Regions from separate parts of the Homo sapiens genome. Here all the other regions are linked to region 1. The links are contacts of gene promoters, found by promoter capture Hi-C in human tissues and cell types (Jung and others, 2019). All regions are on one chromosome and are shown on one strand. Each heading gives the region's core, a stretch centred on a gene start or on the middle of the fragment in contact. The rest is flanking DNA. Distances are from core to core; before and after follow the strand shown. Region 1 holds the start of ANKHD1 (ankyrin repeat and KH domain containing 1). Region 2 overlaps SLC35A4 (solute carrier family 35 member A4). Region 3 has its middle 7.5 kb from the start of CD14.

The links. Contacts are between HindIII fragments. The study calls those that stand out against the background at their distance.
Region 2: a contact is called between a fragment that was not itself captured here and the fragment with the promoter of ANKHD1 in region 1, in 1 of the 25 tissues and cell types used here (liver).
Region 3: a contact is called between a fragment that was not itself captured here and the fragment with the promoter of ANKHD1 in region 1, in 1 of the 25 tissues and cell types used here (hippocampus).

The regions. Positions count from the first base shown.
Region 1 is chr5:140,398,932-140,404,038 of GRCh38, forward strand. ANKHD1 (ankyrin repeat and KH domain containing 1) reads left to right here and starts at 2,902. Exons shown (of 34, transcript NM_017747.3): 1 at 2,902-3,342. The coding sequence starts at 3,037. It overlaps ANKHD1-EIF4EBP3 (ANKHD1-EIF4EBP3 readthrough), which reads left to right and starts at 2,902. Exons shown (of 36, transcript NM_020690.6): 1 at 2,902-3,342. The coding sequence starts at 3,037. ANKHD1-DT (ANKHD1 divergent transcript) reads right to left here and starts at 2,470. Exons shown (of 2, transcript NR_186045.1): 1 at 2,180-2,470. RefSeq lists enhancers at 1,496-1,645, 1,736-1,885, 1,976-2,025, 2,216-3,105. The HindIII fragment of the contact is 13,843 bases long and covers 1-5,107 here.
Region 2 is chr5:140,567,235-140,571,876 of GRCh38, forward strand. SLC35A4 (solute carrier family 35 member A4) reads left to right here. Exons shown (of 3, transcript NM_080670.4): 3 at 1-1,866. The coding sequence ends at 910. It overlaps LOC131768270 (SLC35A4 upstream open reading frame protein), which reads left to right. Exons shown (of 3, transcript NM_001394034.2): 3 at 1-1,866. Among named protein-coding and RNA genes, the nearest start is that of SLC35A4, 4.7 kb to the left of the region's middle. RefSeq lists enhancers at 2,069-2,468, 2,500-3,001, 3,002-3,501. The HindIII fragment of the contact is 5,475 bases long and covers 543-4,642 here.
Region 3 is chr5:140,623,467-140,627,920 of GRCh38, forward strand. It overlaps a transcript of TMCO6 not described here. Among named protein-coding and RNA genes, the nearest start is that of CD14, 7.5 kb to the right of the region's middle. The HindIII fragment of the contact is 3,350 bases long and covers 538-3,887 here.

The DNA of each region.
Region 1 (5,107 bases), core at 1,652-4,151:
TTTTTTTAACATTTTCTACAACTTATTTATTATCTAGAAAGAACATTTAACAAACATGTTCTGCTCATAGAAAACACTATCCTTTACATGTGAAATGTCAAAATGAGCAATTACTAAGCCAAAGAAATGTTTATGATATTCAAAATGTTTTTTAAATAAATGTTTGGCAGAATCAACTTTTAAAGTTATTTTAAAAATCATTATATTCTTATAAAATTTTAAGATCCCAGTTTAAGGATGACGAAATATTAAATATTGCACAGTTGAGATATATAAAGGCCTTTGTTAAAGTTGTAAGAGAGGAGAAAATGACTTTTTTTTTTTTTTTTTGAGACTGAGTCTTGCTCTGTCGCCAGGCTGCAGTGCAGTGGTGCGATCTCGGCTCACTGCAACCTCCGCCTCCTGGGTTCAAGCGATTCTCTTGCCTCAGCCACCCGAGTAGCTGGGATTACAGGCACGCGCCGCCACACTTGGCTAATTTTTGTATTTTTAGTAGAGACGGGGTTTCACCATGTTGGCCAGGATGGTCTCCATCTCCTGACCTCGTGATCCGCTCACCTCTGCCTCCCAAGGTGCTGGGATTACAGGTGTGAGCCACTGCGCCCGGCCATTTTTTTTTTTTTCAGCCAAATTCTGTTATCATATGGACATTCTCTGGGTCAAAGGATATTTTCCATACAAACCACCAGACTCCTTTTTTGGTCATGTCTGATTAAAGGATTAGATAGAAACCGTTTTTTTTTTATTTTTTTAATTTTTTTAGACAGGGCACCGCTCTGTTGCTCAGGCTGGAGTTCAGTGGCACGATCTCGGCTCACTGCAACCTCCATCTCCCAGGCTCAGGGGATCCCTCCCACCTCAGCCTCCTGAGTAGCTGGAATTACAGGCATGCACCACCATGCTCGGCTAATTTTTTTTTTTTTTTTGAGACGATGTGTTGCTCTGTCGCCTAACCTGGAGTGCAGTGGCACGATCTTGGCTCACTGCAAACTTCGCCTCCTGGGTTCAAGTGATTCTCCTGCCTCAGCCTCCCGAGTAGCTGGGATTACAGGCACGCACCATCACATCTGGCTAATTTTTGTATTTTTAGTATAGACGGGGTTTCGCCATGTTGGCCAGGCTGGTCTAGAACTCCTAACCTCAAATGATCCGCCCACCTAGGCCTCCCAAAGTGCTGGGATTAACAGGCGTGAGTCACCGCGCCGAGCCCAATTTTTGTATTTTTGGTAAAGACGGGATTTCACCATGTTGCCTAGGCTGGGCTCGAACTACTGGGTTCAAATGATCCGCCCGCCTCAACATCCCATAGTGTTGGGATTACAGGCGTGAGCCACGGCGCCCGCTATAGAATCTGAATATTTTTAACCCCCCTCTTTACTGACAAGATAAAGACAGAGATAGAGAGATGCATATAGGGAGGAAGAGATCTCCTTAGAGGAGGGAAGACCACCACAGCTAGCCTTGTTTTGCACCACACAGATCTGATTAGAACTAGAATTAGTTGGGCTGGCAGGACCCAGGGGCGAGCAGAGAGTTCCTGAAGGAAGAGGAGACAATAACTAGCAAAAATGAGTCTTTCCTGTAAGTTTGGGACTTTGCTAAGCGCTATATTATCATCTAATTTATTCATAACAACAACCCAATGAGGAAGGTACTAATATTACTCCCATTTCACAGAGGAGCGAGTTGAAAGTCACAAAAATGAAACAGCAAACGCGCCGAAGTCAGGCAGCAAGTAAGTGGCAGCACCAGAACTCGAAACTGCCTCGGAGCATGCACTCTTCACCACCCCGTTCCACCTTGAGGTCGGATTCCGCACGCCGTTCGCGGCATTCCCACCTTCCTACGTGGGACAGTTCCCGGTACTGAGGCATGGCGCTGTCCAGCCCTCAGGCCCGCAGCCGTCCGCAAGCAGGAGAACGCGGCCCCGCTGGGCGATCCTGCCCGAAGGCGCCCGAACTGCGGCGCGCGGCCGGGTCCTGGCGGGCGGGTCGAGTCTCCCCAAGGCGGCCATCCCAAGCAGCTCCCCGGATGTCCCTCAGACCCGCGCGCTAGGCTCAACTCAGAAAGGCGGGAGGCGCGAAGCGAGATCGGCCTTGCCCCTCGACTGTCCCCTCATCGCTCCCCGTCCTCTATTCCCTCCCAAATAGCCCCCGGCAAATAGGTTACACATCTTCACCTGTCCCAGAGGTGGTGACTGCTCTAGTGACTGACGCTACGCTCCTCCAACCAGGCAATGGCAGGAAGGTGGAGCCTTCCTAAGACTGATGGCTTCCTTTCTCCAATCCCGGTGCAGCTATTCTCCGGCCATAGTCTCGGCGCCCAGCGGAGAGCGACAGGTGGGAGCTGCGTTACTTCGGCGCCTCTTGCATCCTTGACGTAGAAGTTTCACCAAGCGCAGGGTGAAGTCTACTCCAAATTTGACCAATTCTTGCGGGTCATCACTTCAGCAGTCATTTTATTCAGAAGTGGAAATTTCCCGGCCCTTTCCCGTCACCTCAGATGAGGGCGGGATCAATGGTACTCCCACAGGCCAATTGTACCACGCGACGTCCCGCGACAAAGTGACCGACACTTTATGGCGCCAATGAATTCTCCCATTGTTCGGGGTCACTATGACTGACCACAAGGCCAACTAATCCACTTTAAGGTCGTGACGCGATAGTCAGGCGGGTTGGCCAATAGACATAGGAAAAGAGCGGAAGTCAGCTGGTGAAGAGTGGGAGGCGGGTGTTCGCAACCGCCTAGGCCTGCGCGGGTCAACGCAGCTTGGCGGCTGCGAGCCAGCGAGCGGCGCGTGACGAAGAGCCTGAGCGACGGGTCACTTTGGCCAATGATCTGCAGCCGCCAGGGTATTGCAGCCAGTGGCGAGTCGAGGGGGCGGGAGGCAGCAGGTTAGGCAGTGAGAAGTTAGTGGCGCTGCTGGGACGGGGGAAAGGAGACGCTTCTTCCTCTTGCTGCTCTTCTCGTTCCCGAGATCAGCGGCGGCGGTGACCGCGAGTGGGTCGGCACCGTCTCCGGCTCCGGGTGCGAACAATGCTGACTGATAGCGGAGGCGGCGGCACCTCCTTTGAGGAGGACCTGGACTCTGTGGCTCCGCGATCCGCCCCAGCTGGGGCCTCGGAGCCGCCTCCGCCGGGAGGGGTCGGTCTGGGGATCCGCACCGTGAGGCTCTTTGGGGAGGCCGGGCCAGCGTCGGGAGTCGGCAGCAGCGGCGGCGGCGGCAGCGGCAGCGGTACGGGCGGAGGGGACGCGGCGCTGGATTTCAAGTTGGCGGCTGCCGTGCTGAGGACCGGGGGTGGAGGTGGTGCCTCTGGCAGTGACGAGGACGAAGTGTCCGAGGTAAGGCTCCGGGACCCTCGCCTCCCACACATTGTGAGGCGTGAATTCTCTTTGGGTAGGCTCTGGGCCGGGGCCATCCTCCCGCTTCCCTGGTGGAGCCCTTCTGTGACAGCGGTCGGCTCCATGGCGGCGGTGGCCGCGGTGAGGGCCTAGTGAGCCCTCGGCTTACTCTTTAGCTCGAGCGGGACAGGTTCCCGTCACCATTCGTAGACCCACAATAGGGAGTCCTTTGGTCTCTGAGCTTCGCGCGGGAACAGGGACTCCTCAGGCTGCCTCCCGCCCACCCTGCTTTGGAGTTGGGGGTGGGGGGCGGGGTCTTGCCAGAGTCCCTGCCCTTGGTACTGAGAGAGACAAACAGAGACAGAGACAGAGCTGGTGCAAAGATCGTTTCTCTTCTTTGCCTCTCCTCAGAGTTGAGGGATACGTTTATTTGCCTTCTGCCTTGTGTGTGTCTTACCTGTGTGCTTAAGGACGGTTCTTATTCTCCCTCTTCAGTTTGAGACAGGTTTGAGTATTAGGGATCTCTCGGCTTTTACCCTGAAAAATCACGTGACTCCTCCTTCTGGGACCTTTTGTGAAGTTAGACAGGAAAAGGAAGTTCCAGGGCATCCCTGAGCTTCGGAATAGCTGGGTAGCTGAACTCGGAGGTTTTAGGCTTGGAGAAAGTGGGGCAACCTGTGGAAACCTCTTCTTTTTTTTTTTTTTTTTTTTTTTTTTGAGATGGAGTTTCGCTCTTGTTGTCCACGCTAGAATACACGTGATCTCAGCTCACTGCAACCTCCGCCTCCCGGGTTCAAGCGATTCTCCTGCCTCAGCCTCCCGAGTAGCTGGGATTACAGGCGTGCGCCACCACGCCCGACTAATTTTGTATTTTTATTAGATACGGGGTTTCACCATGTTGGTCAGGCTGGTCTCGAACTCCTGACCTCAGGTGATCCGCCCGCCTCGGCCTCCCAAAGTGCTGGGATTACAGGTATGAGCCACCGTGCCCGGCTGGACACCTTCACTCTGCCTTTGCAGTGAAGTCCTTCATTTCTTTAACTCTTCTGTGTGTACTCTAATGTGTACACATTTTTAGGTCTGAGCAACCTGGGATGGTAGGCATTAACTTCTTTTGGGTTCTGGGGAAAAAGGGGCGGGTTTTGTTTTTGTTTTTTGAGATGGAGTTTCGCTCTGTCGCCAGGCTGGAGTGCAGTGGCGCGATCTCGGCACACTGCAACCTCCGCCTCCTGGGTTCAAGCGATTCCCCTGCCTTAGCCTCCTGAGTAGCTGGGACTACAGGCGCGTGCCACCACTCCCGGCTAATATTTTGTATTTTTTAGTAAAGACAGGGTTTCACCATGTCCAGGATGGTCTCGATCTCCTGACCTTGTGATCCCAAGGGGCGGTATTTTATGTGTATACTTTTTTCTGTTGACTGTGGCTTGCGTAGAGTACTGTACCGTGATTGTTTTAAGTGCTCAGAGTATTTCTTCTATTTTGGTTCTGAGGTGCCTGAGTTGTCACCTGTGACCAGTTATTTTAACCTCTGGTCTTGGTGTTAAAGTACAGGAATTTCTCTGTGTGTACTAACAATCCCGGCTCTTGGATTTGAGAGGAATAAGGAGAAATTATTTGTGGGTTACAGACTGCAGTTAGTATACTGTCTTATCATTCTAGGTCTGAACAGGGTTTTATTTAATATTTAAAACCTTAGTACATTCTGACCCTAACATTTTGCTTTGGAAAAAAAAGTGTGTGGGTTATAAGGCGGGTAGTCCCTTGA
Region 2 (4,642 bases), core at 2,030-4,529, 170 kb after region 1:
GCTACTCCTATCCACTGCCATGTACGGTGCCCATGCCCCATTGCTGGCACTGTGCCATGTGGACGGCCGAGTGCCCTTCCGGCCCTCCTCAGCCGTGCTGCTGACTGAGCTGACCAAGCTACTGTTATGCGCCTTCTCCCTTCTGGTAGGCTGGCAAGCATGGCCCCAGGGGCCCCCACCCTGGCGCCAGGCTGCTCCCTTCGCACTATCAGCCCTGCTCTATGGCGCTAACAACAACCTGGTGATCTATCTTCAGCGTTACATGGACCCCAGCACCTACCAGGTGCTGAGTAATCTCAAGATTGGAAGCACAGCTGTGCTCTACTGCCTCTGCCTCCGGCACCGCCTCTCTGTGCGTCAGGGGTTAGCGCTGCTGCTGCTGATGGCTGCGGGAGCCTGCTATGCAGCAGGGGGCCTTCAAGTTCCCGGGAACACCCTTCCCAGTCCCCCTCCAGCAGCTGCTGCCAGCCCCATGCCCCTGCATATCACTCCGCTAGGCCTGCTGCTCCTCATTCTGTACTGCCTCATCTCAGGCTTGTCGTCAGTGTACACAGAGCTGCTCATGAAGCGACAGCGGCTGCCCCTGGCACTTCAGAACCTCTTCCTCTACACTTTTGGTGTGCTTCTGAATCTAGGTCTGCATGCTGGCGGCGGCTCTGGCCCAGGCCTCCTGGAAGGTTTCTCAGGATGGGCAGCACTCGTGGTGCTGAGCCAGGCACTAAATGGACTGCTCATGTCTGCTGTCATGAAGCATGGCAGCAGCATCACACGCCTCTTTGTGGTGTCCTGCTCGCTGGTGGTCAACGCCGTGCTCTCAGCAGTCCTGCTACGGCTGCAGCTCACAGCCGCCTTCTTCCTGGCCACATTGCTCATTGGCCTGGCCATGCGCCTGTACTATGGCAGCCGCTAGTCCCTGACAACTTCCACCCTGATTCCGGACCCTGTAGATTGGGCGCCACCACCAGATCCCCCTCCCAGGCCTTCCTCCCTCTCCCATCAGCAGCCCTGTAACAAGTGCCTTGTGAGAAAAGCTGGAGAAGTGAGGGCAGCCAGGTTATTCTCTGGAGGTTGGTGGATGAAGGGGTACCCCTAGGAGATGTGAAGTGTGGGTTTGGTTAAGGAAATGCTTACCATCCCCCACCCCCAACCAAGTTCTTCCAGACTAAAGAATTAAGGTAACATCAATACCTAGGCCTGAGAAATAACCCCATCCTTGTTGGGCAGCTCCCTGCTTTGTCCTGCATGAACAGAGTTGATGAAAGTGGGGTGTGGGCAACAAGTGGCTTTCCTTGCCTACTTTAGTCACCCAGCAGAGCCACTGGAGCTGGCTAGTCCAGCCCAGCCATGGTGCATGACTCTTCCATAAGGGATCCTCACCCTTCCACTTTCATGCAAGAAGGCCCAGTTGCCACAGATTATACAACCATTACCCAAACCACTCTGACAGTCTCCTCCAGTTCCAGCAATGCCTAGAGACATGCTCCCTGCCCTCTCCACAGTGCTGCTCCCCACACCTAGCCTTTGTTCTGGAAACCCCAGAGAGGGCTGGGCTTGACTCATCTCAGGGAATGTAGCCCCTGGGCCCTGGCTTAAGCCGACACTCCTGACCTCTCTGTTCACCCTGAGGGCTGTCTTGAAGCCCGCTACCCACTCTGAGGCTCCTAGGAGGTACCATGCTTCCCACTCTGGGGCCTGCCCCTGCCTAGCAGTCTCCCAGCTCCCAACAGCCTGGGGAAGCTCTGCACAGAGTGACCTGAGACCAGGTACAGGAAACCTGTAGCTCAATCAGTGTCTCTTTAACTGCATAAGCAATAAGATCTTAATAAAGTCTTCTAGGCTGTAGGGTGGTTCCTACAACCACAGCCATGATTGTCTTGTGTCTTCTGTCTGCGCAACTCCCCTCAAACAATTTTGTTCCTCTGGGGTCCTGAGTATCTTAATTCTGGGATAACTTTTAGACTAAGAAAAAATTGTTTTCTCCAAGCTGTTGCCAGTGGCATTATTTCCTGTGAGAGTTCCATGGAACTGAGACATTTCCCTGTCATAGAGCTTTTGAAATTTCCCTGGAGCACAAAACTTGGGCCCAGGGGAATGCGGAGAGAGTCTTGGGAACAGCAGGTGCTGGGCCGAGCAGGACAAACTAGACTCTAGGCCAAAAAACTCTTAAGAAAGCCGATGTGGTTTCGGTTTTCATTTCCTCTGGTTCCCTTACAATTTCTGCCTGTCATCTGTCTTAAAATCATGGCCAGGGGAATGTCAGGCCCTGATTCTATGATAGAATATGTGGTGAGTTTCTAAAAAAAACCAAGGGGGTTGGGGGGGGGCCCTAGGCCTATCTTAGACCTATTAAAGCAGAATCTTAGGGAGTAGTGTTTGGGAATCTTTTTCTTCTTTCTCTTAAGCTCCCTAGGTGGTTCTGATGCACACAGAAGCTTGTAAGCCACTACTGTGCAGTGTAGAACTATGGACAGACTTGAATTTGAATTCTGGATCTTCCACTTAGCTGACTGTTCTTGGGCAGTTATTTAACCTCTCCTAGCTTTAGTTGCCTTATCCCTGAAATAAGGATCAAATGGTACCTACTATATGTGGTAGCTGGAGAGGCTAAATAAAATAATATTAGGCACTTAGTAAGGACTGGAACAATGAGACATGGTTTGTGTTATTAATTATCCATAATAAGGATCAGCTTGGTTTTGTCTCACCTTTTTCTCCCTTCTAGGACCCTCCAGAATGAGGAGACAAGAAACTTCCTCTAAAGGGTTCCTGTTAAGGTTTCTCCCCAGGACAGGTCCAGCATGACTACCCCCAGCCTAGTCTGCACCCTGCTGAAGCTGCTGGTTCTCAGCTTGGAGCTCCTGATTCTGTGTGGCCAGGTTGATGGTTTCTTCCAGGGTGCCCGCCAGCAGGCTGCAGTGATGATGCTCTGTGGTCATGGCCCCCTCCTCCCACTGGCCCTGCCAGGCTCAGAATACCTGTGCCCAGATTCAGAGATGCCTGTCACTCAGCCAGCCTTGGAGCCAGCTCAAGGCCTACCCTCCATCCCCACTGATGGGCAGCACATGGTGTGTCTGAGCTCGGGTGGCCTGCACATGCAGGTCATAGAGGGCTGCCAGGTCCTGCTCTGCTGTGTTCCGCTCTTCCTGAAGGGCCTCCAGCTGGAATCTCAGCACCATCTGTTCCTGCTGCCATCTCTGCCTCTCCTCGCAGGCCTTCAGTGATAACACATACTCTTTGGAGTGCCACCTGTGTGCCAGGCTCTGTGCTAAATACTTCAGGTGTATTATTTTATCCAATAACAACCATATGTGGCATTGCCATCTTACAGATTTGGCAACAGTGGATCAAAGAAGTGACCTAACTTGCCCAAATTCTCATGGCTAGTAAAGGTCAGAGCTGACATGGCACATGCCTTTCAATGGTTTGCAGCTCTCCTTGGGGTAAAGTCCAAAGCCAGAGCTGTGGCACACACTTGTCTCTTTAGCCTTGCTTCTGACTACGCACCTGTTCAGCTCCAGCCAGACTGGAGAATTTGCAGTTCCCAGACCCACTTTGCCATTGCTTCCCTCTGAACTTTTGCTTATACTGTTTTGTCTTCTCTAAGAACATGTCCCCACTCCACCCACCCCCCATCAGTTACTGATGAGCAGTAACTGCCCTTGTTAAGCTCAGTGTCCAGTGAATTCCCCTGGCTGATCTCTGCCTGTCCTTTGAGGCTCAACTTAGATTCCATCTCCTCTGATCCACTCCAGCCTGGGTCAGATATGCCTTTTTGGTCCCACACAACCCTAGATCCCCCATCCCATCACTTAGCACTGAGAATTGCCTCATCTATCCCTGACAAGGCTGTGAGGGCCATGAGAGAGGGTATGAACTGGTCGGTTGTGATTGATGATGGATCCTAGCCCCTAGCACAGTGCCTGGACCAATTAGAGCCTCAAGTCCCCTATTTGACCCTCCTTACCTCCTCTTCAGCCACCAGGCCTTTGACCTGGTCATCTGCCACCTCCTCCTTCTGTTCCAAATGCTTCAGCTTCTCTCGAATCCAAATTTGGTGCTGCTCCCTCAGTCTCTGCCTCTGGGCCTGGGCCAAGAAGAGCGGCCGGGCCACATCTGGTATCTGCTGGGCTTGGTCAGAAGTTCATGTGTGTGCACGGATTTAGGACCAGAGCCCAACTTTTCCAATAGAACCTCATCACCAGGGCTGCTCCCAGAACAACATCCAGGACCTAACTAGCCTGGAAGAGCTTGTAGCCTGGGCAGAGACTCAGGAGGCCATGGTGGGGAGAGGAAGGTAGTGGCTCTGCCAGGAGGTGCCATAGTGCCTCTAAGGATCCTATACCCTTAATCCAATAAGTAGGAAAACAGTCCCTCCCCATGGCCTTGCCTTAGGGGTCTAGTCACCTTCAGGTCCTTTATTTGTCAAAAACTTCATATTTCTCCCTGATATTGGGGCAGGGTAAGCAGGGGCACATTAGCTGGGCTCTGCAGCTCTTCACTCCCCCTACAGCTTCTAGTCGTTCCTGGGGTACATGAGGTATTACCTATTCCTTAGGGTGCCTGAGAGGATTCTTTTGGTGGAGCCACGCCTTAGAGTTGCCATTCTTCCTGCCACTAGAGGAAAATGTAATTAATCACACCA
Region 3 (4,454 bases), core at 963-3,462, 220 kb after region 1:
ATGTTAATCTGACTGGGCCAGTGCACCTAAATAATTAATAAATATCATCCTGAACCCCATCGGTCTCTCTGATTCCTTAAAAATCCCGCAACAGTTCAAGTTACAAAATAACATGTTTTAAGACAAATAATTAAGTTTAAGCCACAGGGCGAAATGTATCTATGCTCACATCTTTAGTGATTTCATCAAGTCTTATAACTTAGGCCTCAAACCATAGAGTCATCCCTGAGCCCACCTTTTTTCTCTTTTTTAAAAATTTAGTTGAATTTTTATACTTAAAACATTTTAAAAAAATAGAGATGGAGGGTCTCAGTATGTTGCCCAGGCTAGTCTCAAACTCCTGACCTCAAGTGATCCTCCTGCCTTGGCCTCCCAAAGTGCTGGGATTATAGGCATGAGCCACCTTGCCCAGCCATCCCTTTCTCATGTTCCACCCTTTATATGTAAAAATCCTGTGAGCTCTGTCTTCAAAAAATGCGCATAATTTGACCATTTCCCCCCACTTCTACTATCCTGATCCAACTGTCACCATGTTTTTGTGTGGGTTTTCTTAAACAGCTTTATATTGAGTTGTGATTCACAACAAATAAAATTCACCCTTTTAAAGTATTTAATTTAGGCTTGGCGTGGTGACTCATGCCTGTAATCCCAGCACTGTGGGAGGCTGAGGTGGGCAGATCACGAGGTCAGGAGTTTGAGACCAGCCTGACCAAAATGGTGAAACCCCGTCTCTACTAAAAATACAAAAATTAGCCAGGCCTGGTGGTGCCTGCCTGTAATCCCAGCTACTCAGGAGGCTGAAGCAGGAGAATCACTTGAACCTGGGAGGCGGAGGTTGCAGGAGCCGAGATCACACCTTTGCACTCCAGCCTGGGTAACAGAGTGAGACTCCATCTCAAAATAAATGAATAAATAAATAAATAAATAAAGTATTCAATTTAGTGGTGTTTATTATATTACCAGAGTTGTGTAACTATAACCGCGCTTTAATTTTAGAACATTTTTATCACCCCAAAAAGAAATTCTGTATCCCATTAGAGGTCATTCCCCTTGACCACCCCACTTCTAAGCAACCACAAATCTTTGTGTCTCTATCTATCATCATTTCTTTTTTTATTTTTATTTTTGAAACGGAGTCTCACTCTGTGATCTTGGCTCGCTGCACCTCTGCCTCCCAGGTTCAAGTGATTCTTGCACCTCAGCCTCCCGAGTAGCTGGGGCTAATTTTTTTTTGTATTTTCAGTAGAGACAGGGTTTTGCCATATTGGCCAGGCTGGTCTCGAACTCCTGACCTCAAGTGATCCACCCACTTTGGCCTCTCAAAATGCTGGTATTACAGGCATGAGTCACTGCACCCAACCTCACCATCATTTCTTTCTTTCTTTCTTTCTTTTTTTTTTTTTTTTGAGATGGAGTCCTGCTCTGTGCCCAGGCTAGAGTACAGTGGCATGATCTTGGCTCACTGCAACCTCTGCCTCCCAGGTACAAGTGATTCTTCTGCCTCAGCCTCCTGAGTAGCTGGGATTACAGGCGCTTGGCACCGCGCCTGGCTAATTTTCGTATTTTTAGTAGAAACGGGGTTTCACCGTCTTGGCCAGGCTGATCTCAAACTCCTGACCTCATAATACATCCGCCTTGGCCTCCCAAAGTGCCAGGATTACAGGCGTGAGTCACTGCACCCGGCCTCCATCATTTCTTGACTGGGTTATTGGTATAAATTCCCAACGAGTCTTCTAACTTACTCTCTATAGTTTACTTTCAACACAGCAGCTAATGTGATCCTTTAAAAATGGAAACCAGTTTATGTTACCCTTTGTCAGTATCCTCAGGTGGCTCTCTATTTCACCTGAGTGAAAACCAAGCTTCACAGTGGCCTGTGAGCCTTAAACAACAATTGAGGCCACTTGCTATCTCTCTGATATCATTGCCAATGTCTTCCAGGGCCTTTGTACTGGATGTTTCCTCTTCCTGGACTGCTCTTCCAGCAGATAACTACAAGGCTCACTCTCTCACCTCCCTTAAATCTTTGCTCAGAAGTCACCTCATGTGAGGTCTATTCTAACAACTATAAACTTGCAATCCTTCACCCTTATGCCCAGCAATCCTGACTGTTTTGGCTCAGCTCTATTTTCCCCACAGCACTTACCATCATCTAGCACTTTATACTTTCTTCTCCCCACTGCAATATGAACACTTTAAGAGCAGGAACTTTTGTCGCTTTGCTCACTATAAGTGCTTTGTCCTCAGCACTTCCAAAGTGCTTGTCAGGTAGTGGGAGCTCAATAAATAATTGTTAAATGGATGAATAAATTAATGACCAGAACATTCCAGGCAGAGGGAAGAACAAGAGGCAAAGGAAAGAATGGCTAGAATATGTTGGGGGTGATGTTGGTTTACAAGGTGGAGATGACAGTAGAGGAGGCATAGGGAGTTGCTGACCATGTCTCCCTATGTTCTCTGTCTCAAGTTCTAAGTTCTCTTCCTATTTCTCTGTCTCCTTTGAAGACCCTGCTTTCTCCATCCTGAAATGTTGACTGATGATTCCCAGTTTCCTTCTTTAGCACGGTCTCTTCTTTCTCCCCTCCTGGCCTGGGTGAACTTACTCATGGCTATTCATGGCTACGGTTTCCACAGGCATTTCTACACTGATGGCTCCCAAATTCTTATAGCCAGGCCAAACCTGTCCCCTAAGCTCTAGCCCCTATGGCTAACTGCCTACTGGACTGTCCACCTGTGAGTGGCTCTAAGCAACCTATGCCCAGTCTTCTTTTTTTTTTGAGATGGAGTCTTGCTCTATCACCCAGGCTGGAATGCAATGGTGTACTATTAATGTCAAACCCAATTCTTAATAAAACCTTATAGAAAAAGATATCCAATTTTAATCAGTTTGACCATAAGGTAAGAGTCTCATAAACCTTTTATTACCCTTTATATATTTTTTCTTTATTTTTTAAGACAGAATCTCACTTTGTCACCCTGGCTGGAGTGCAGTGGCATGCTTTCAGCTTACTGTAACTTCTGCCTCCTGGGTTCAAGTGATTCTCCTGGCTCAGCCTCCCAAGTGTCTGGGATTACAGGCATTGTATCCCATTAGAGGTCATTCCCCTTGACCACCCCACTTCTAAGCAGCCACAAATCTTTGTGTCTCTATCTATTATCATTTCTTTTTTTATTTTTATTTTTGAAACAGAGTCTCACTCTGTGATCTTGGCTTGCTGCACCTCTGCCACCATGCCACCATGTCATGCTAATTTTTTGTATGTTTAGTAGAGATGGGGTTTTGCCATGTTGCCCAGGCTGGTCTTGAACTCCTGACCTCAGGCAATCCTCCTGCCTTGGCCTCCCAAAGTGCTAGGATTACAGGCATGAGCCAAAGTGCCCAGCCTATATTTTACTGTTAAAGAGCAGATCAGTGCTCTAAGAAAACTCTATTGTGCTTTTATTCCAATGTTCAATTTATGGAAAAATTGAATACCCCTTTAACTTTAGCCAGTATGTCCACAGACAGAATTTATATTTCATAAACCTGCCACAACTTGCTCAAAGCTTCTACTTTTCCCTATCCAACTTAAAATAATACTTTAACCCCCTAAACTAGGCAAAAAAAAAATCCACATTCCTGTGCCTTCTTATAATCTTTTGCCAAAAACACATTCACTTTCCTTACGCACTTTCCATGTAAAACTGTTTCTCTACTAGTCTCAATTGCATATGTTACAATGTTACGTCTCAGCAACTTTTTTTTTTTTTTGGTGAAAAACCTGGTAAGTAAGCAATTTTAATTATGTACCAGGTGTGGAGCCTAGGACACCAGACAGAAGTGCAGATAAGGTCTGATCTTTCCAGCATAGCTAGAGGGCATGGCTAACTCCACATGTCTCTAGGCATTACCTAGAATCTAATGGTTCCAAAGCAGGTAAGTTGAACAATGATCATATCAAGGAAGCAGTTTATGTAGTTTAGTAAACTCAGTGTCTGACCTGCCTAATTTAGACCAAATGTATAAATTTTGAAGACATTTTTATTTTACCAATAATCTTTAAAACTGTCTTTATTTCCCAAGGATTACTAAAGTCATATGAACTAAAAGGCATTAAAGTTTTAATTTTTCTGACAAAATATTTAAGTGCTTTTTCTTTAAGCCAATTAATTAGAGCTCTTTTATATAAACATTACACACACACAACATATGTAAATAGACAGACAGAAGAAGATCCAGTTATTGTAAGCTTTTTCATTTGCCAGTTTTTACATTTTTCTTTTCTTTTTTTTTTTTGAGATTAGCCAGGTGTGGTGGCGGGCGCATGTAGTCCCAGCTACTCAGGAGGCTGAGGCAGGAGAATCACTTGAACCTGGGAGGCAGAGGTTGCAGTGAGTCAAGATTCTGCCACTGCACTCCAGCCTGGGTGACAGAGTGAGGCTCCATCTCAAAAAATAAAAAAAACAAGTAACAT